Linked DNA regions of Homo sapiens: region 1 is linked to region 2. Evidence: promoter capture Hi-C in human tissues and cell types (Jung and others, 2019). All regions are on one chromosome and are shown on one strand. Each heading gives the region's core, a stretch centred on a gene start or on the middle of the fragment in contact. The rest is flanking DNA. Distances are from core to core; before and after follow the strand shown.

The links. The method cuts DNA at HindIII sites, captures the fragments that hold promoters and counts their contacts. A contact is called where the count stands out against the background at its distance.
Region 1: a contact is called between the fragment with the promoter of ADIPOR2 here and the fragment with the promoter of LRTM2 in region 2, in 2 of the 25 tissues and cell types used here (mesendoderm cells and pancreas).

Annotation. Positions count from the first base shown.
Region 1 is chr12:1,689,659-1,692,358 of GRCh38, reverse strand. It overlaps ADIPOR2 (adiponectin receptor 2), which reads right to left and starts at 1,289. Exons shown (of 8, transcript NM_024551.3): 1 at 1,168-1,289. RefSeq lists silencers at 987-1,076, 1,097-1,396 and enhancers at 895-1,473, 1,557-1,606, 1,627-1,786. The HindIII fragment of the contact is 10,259 bases long and covers 112-2,700 here.
Region 2 is chr12:1,819,247-1,821,946 of GRCh38, reverse strand. LRTM2 (leucine rich repeat transmembrane protein 2) reads right to left here and starts at 1,382. Exons shown (of 5, transcript NM_001039029.3): 1 at 1,133-1,382. The region is part of intron 26 of CACNA2D4 (calcium voltage-gated channel auxiliary subunit alpha2delta 4); the gene reads left to right. RefSeq lists an enhancer at 1,066-1,812. The HindIII fragment of the contact is 8,239 bases long and covers 1-2,700 here.

The sequences.
Region 1 (2,700 bases), core at 40-2,539, 130 kb after region 2:
ATGAAAACATCTAGGAATTACCTAAGAGTCGTTTAAGGAGACATAAGGGTGGCCTTTGATAAGAGGTCACTTCAAACTTTCAGAACTGACAAGACGTATAGCCTCCCCCCAAAAAATAATGCTATGGGTAGATGGATGCTTTTTTCTGAAGGAATTTTTAGCATTTCATTTGGAAAAGTTCTGTGATCAAATAATGCTAAATGTTATGACAGCTTTCTTGGCGTTTAAAGGGATTCTCTGGGTGAGGGGAAGGGGTGATAAAAAAAAAAAAAGTCTGCTTTTGGAACAGAAATGGGGGACAATAACCAAGGCTCAGAAACCCAGAGTCAAAAAATTAAAAGAACATCTTATTTTAAAAAAAAAGTCAACAACCTGCAATGAAGTCACCGTACCCCCATAAAATCCCAACTGTGCATTTAAATCTTTCTACCAAAATTCACTTTTGGACCATCTTATGAAGTTGTCAAAATTTCAGAGGCAAACGCTTAAATCAAGATCAAAAGCCAGGAGGAAAAAAGAGCTAACAGTTTCCAACCCAAACTCTCTCCGAGCCCCCTAAAAACTGATTTATAACCCTGTCATCGGTAATTTTAGAAGAAGCGAACACTGACGGACGGGGGCTTGGGAAAACAGGACTCCAGGTACCAAGCAGGCTGCCTGACGCGCCACCTGAAAAAGGTGAGGGAACTCTTCCCCACCCCAGTCACTGTGAAAGTAGCGCTGAGAGAGCCCATCCCAAGCCTCCACCAAACAAATTCCTAGAAGTGATAAAAACAGACAAGAGACGAAGAGGGGCGGGCAGATCCTCTCCGCGGGCAGGGAGCTGGAGCAACTGCACCCGAAGGTGAGCAGAGGGCAGCAGGCTCCGACCCTCCGCCGCGAAAGGCGAGGCGAGGGGAACAGCGGGCGCCGGACTCCTCCGACAGCGGTCGCAAGGAGGGCGGCTCCAGGTCCCCACACGGCCGACCCTCAGGCCAAGGCGCGCCGGGCGGCAGGTCAGAGTTAGGAATCAAGTTGCGGGCCGGGCCGAGAGCGCGCTCTCCCGCCCGCGCCAGGGACATTCGCCCCTCAGCTCTCACCTCCCCCCGACCCCAAGCTCTCCCTCTGCGCCCAGGAAACGGCGCCCACACTCCAGAGACCCTCACCCGGAGCCCGTCGCCGCCTCACCGCGTGTCTCGGACTTCTTGGGAGCCACCGCTGAGGGGAGGGGGGAGGAGGGGGGAACGGAGGAGGGAGGGGGCCAAGCCCGGTGTAGCCGCCGCCGCTGCCGCCGCCGCGATGCCGCTTCTGGAATCGCGCTCTCGCCGCCGCGACAGCGACCGCCGCCGCCGCGTCTCCCCGCCCCCACGACCGCACGTCGCCGTGACGCGCATCGCACGAGGCGGTTCGAGCCAATAAGACCACACGCCGTGCGCAGCCGCGCTGTCCTAAACCGGAAGCCGCCCCTCTGACCGCTCTAAAACCTGGGTGCATCGTGGGAGCTGTGGTTCGGCCAGGAACTTAGCGAAAACTATACTGGGTGTTGAGGGCCGGAGGAGCGTGCGCTCCTTAGGCGCTCACACAACTCCTCGGAGTTTTTTCTCCCACCGAAAAAGGAAGCAATTTGGAGCTGAGGAGGAGGGGGCCGCCCCGGCTCGCGGATGCTTTTCGCAGTCTCTATGGATACTGGCTACACACTTTGGGCAAGAGCCAGAATTTGAGGATTTAGGCTGGATCGTGTGTCTCTGCCAAGGGCTGATAGGATGCTGAGCGTCGTCTGTGAAGACTGCGGAAAGAAATCCAAAAGCATTAGCCCAGTTTTGCCCAGAGCAATAGTGTTTGCCTTTTATTACCTTATTAAAGATTATGATTTATGCTCTACCACTTCTATTTTTTTTAAAACCCAGTCACTCTTAAAATACATATAATTCAGAGCGATTTTTAAAATGATGTTAATGTAATGGTATATCAGAACCTACTTAAGCACTAAATACCTGCGTCCATTTACCCAGAATGAGTAAGTAATTTTCCACAAGTCATCTTTACGTTGAGTTCTAACTTCTTAGAAGCCAAGAACAGATTTGGTTACGTACTTATTCTATAAGAAAAGTGAATATAAGAGTTAGTCTGCGTAGAAAAATAGTTCTTTACATTCAGTAGGAGGGGGAATTTATCACATTCTTAAGGCGTAAATGCCTTAACTATCAAAATTCTTGTTATTGACTAAAGGAAATCCATACGATTTAGGGAAAGTCTGTGCCCACGGCTTACTGTCCTTACCTTTGGACCACAGCAAGAGATAACAAAGGGTGCAGGGAAAAGCTGACAGGTCTTGAGGGAGCTGGAGTCGGATATATGACGAAAAAAACAAAAATACAGAAGTCTTCATTATGGAAATGTAAGTTTTAAAAAGTAAAGCTACTAAAATCACAAAGAACATGATTAAGATGGCAATAATACAGAACTAAGGCCCACTCATTTAAGCTTGAAAGAGATAAAACTAGTAGAAATTAAAATTAGGAAATAAATGTTAAAGGAACTAATTTCCTCCAAGGAGTGGTTTACATTGAAAATATAATTTTTTTAAGTTTACATAATTTGTGAAAGACATAATAATAATGACTTCTATGTTCCCAGGTAAAGATGTAAAGCTTTTGAGGTTGAAATCAAGGAAGACAATTGTACACCTCCTCAGCACATCAGAAACAATACAGGCATTTC
Region 2 (2,700 bases), core at 133-2,632:
GGCAGTTATCTAAGCTGCAGGGGTGTCATCTGAGTCACAAAGAGACACTGCCCAAGTAGCCCTGACAGCCGGGTGCCAACACCCCCCAGAAATGTGGACAGCTTGGGGGTGGGGGAGAGACAGGGCCGCCAACTGGAACCCAGCCCCAGACCTGCAGGGAGGTGCAGGAATGTGAACTTCCGACTCCTGGTCAGGCTGCTCCTCTCTCCAGCACTGTCCAAATGGGTCTGGGGGATTGAGAGCAACTGTCCCGCTCTACTCAGGGTGTCCATGCCCCCTGTGTGGGTCAAGAAGCCAGGCAGGCCTGGCCCCGCTGTGTACCCCCCACCCAAGCTCAGTGTCCAGCCCCCACTAAGGCTCCCTGACCCATTTGCAGATGGACGGCTGGGTGCACAGCTGCGGGACACCCCAGCAGGTTCTCGCGGGCCTGGTTCTCCTGTCTTGCCCTTGGGCTAGCAGGGAAGGGCTGCGATACTTCTCTCTCCTGCCCACTCCCAGCCTCACCCTCACCAGGGAGGCTTCATGCACAGCTGAGTGGGCCCATGCTCATCTGGGGGAGGGTTCCTCCACACCCTTGTCCAAGGACAGCCACCTGCAGGCAAGCTATAGGGAGGCCCAGGACCTGGGTCTGTGCCCATGCCTCTGACATCCAGGACCTCCTCCCTGCCACCCTCCACCCCAAGCCTTCCTCTGACCTGGCCCTGTCCCCAGCACCTGACTGCCATCCCAACCGCTTCCCATGACCCCCGAGTTTCTTGGGGCTGTCTGTGCAGAGCCGGGCACAACGACAGCACAAGGCTCTTGGCTGCTTCTCCCATGCTGCAGGGACCGGTTTCTATGCCACCCGGGACTGTCATCTGGCGCCAGCGCTGCCCTCCTCCCCACTTCCCAGCAGAATCCACAGCTCTTGTCCCCAGCACTGTGGGCTCAGAGTTCCCAGTGTCGTGCACCTTTGGGATGCTCAGGTGCCTGAGCCCGAGCAGCTTCTTCGGCCCCAGCAATTGCCTGCAGGTAGGAAGCAACTGCAGCTATTCCTGCAGGGCAGAGATGGCCGGTGCCCACTTCCCATGCCCCGACCACCCCCTGTCCCCACCAACCCTCCATTCCTTCCTACCAGCCACTCGGTACTCACCCGTCTTTACTCTGACTGCAAACGCCTTCAATCAGGTGGCTCTCAACCCTCCAGTAAGACCCTCCTGGGATTCCTATAGAAATCCAGACACCACCGGCAGGCAGAGCGCAGTGGGCACTGGTGCCAGAGTCTCCACTCAGCGGGAGCAGCGGCTGGCACGCAGCACACAGCACCAGGAGGTGGACTGCTTGTGGCAGACGGGGGACGGGGCTGCTGGGTCAGTCACAAACTGAGAAGGAAAGAGAGGGATGGAGGGAGAGAGAGAGAGGAGAGAGGGAAGAAAGGGGCGAGGGAGGAGAGCGCACGCGTGTGCGCGAGCAGCGAGCCAGAGTGGAGCGGGGAGTGACAGCTGGGGTGCATCTGTGATGACAGCGGCAGCAGCACACACAGGCGCACACCAGAGGCACCACGGCCGGCCGCGAGGGCAGCGCTCACCCTGGCCACGCTCACATTTCAGTGGAAAAAGGCGCCTGTGGATGAATCGCTGCCGACCACAGGGAGGAGGAAAGCGGTTTCACCACCACCTCCATCTTCCATCCTGCGCCTCCAGGCTCTCCCTCACCCCCCCGGCTGCACCTGTCTTCTGTGCCTCTCTCCTCTCTTCCCCTCCATCTGGGGAAAGAGGGACAGGCGCAGACACAGAGCAAGCGGCTGACTTCTGTTCCGATGGAGGCCCCCCTGGGAAGCTGGTCTTTCTCCTGTTTTAGAGACATGCGAGGCAGAGTCTCCCATCCTGCCTGAGAGAAGGAAAAACCGAACCCTTCTCTCGGTCATACGAAAGAAGGGTACACAGGCATGTCCATGTGCCAGATGACCCTACAGGAAAGGGCCCTGAGCCCCCACAAAGCCAGGGATCACATGGTCATGCAGAGGTCACTGAGCCTCAGGGTCTGACCACCCGACGCCAGGACTACTTAGGGAAGCAGAATGCCAGAGTTGGCAGGCTGGGAGTTTGGGCACAGGGCAGCCTGCAGCAGCAGCCTGCAGACCGTTCTCAGTGCCAGGGACGAGCTTGGCTTCTCAGGGCTCCTTGCTCTTATCTGTGATGGGTCAGGCATGCGAAGGGAAGAGACTGTCATTCAAGAACTTGGAGGCCTCTTTCTTAACCAATCAGGACAAAGCAAGTCAGAAAAATTGATATCCTAAGAGATGGGAAGTGGCTGATCTGAAGGCCAAGTGAGTCAGGGACCAAGCTAGAGGGGAGCCAGGGCCCCACCAGCCTGGAGCACGAACCCTAAATCCCCCTTCCTTTGCGTCCACTGCCTGTAGACAGATGAAGCACCGTGCTAGCGATATATCACCGTGTCCTATGTCCCTCTTCCATTTTGCCTGCTTTGCTGGAGGGGTTCACAGCCAGGACTGGGGTGGGTGTAGAAGAACCCCCTGGACTCAGGATGCCCCTAGAAGGATGCTCCTGCTCACTCCCTTCTGTCCGTTCTGCCGGGTCCCCGGGCAGCACAAGGCTTGAGCTGCAGTGTCTTTTACCTCTGGGGAGTCCCGCCTCTGACCTCTCATGCTGGTGCCTCCCACACATCCCACTGTCAAGCAAAAGAGGCTCCCACCTCCCC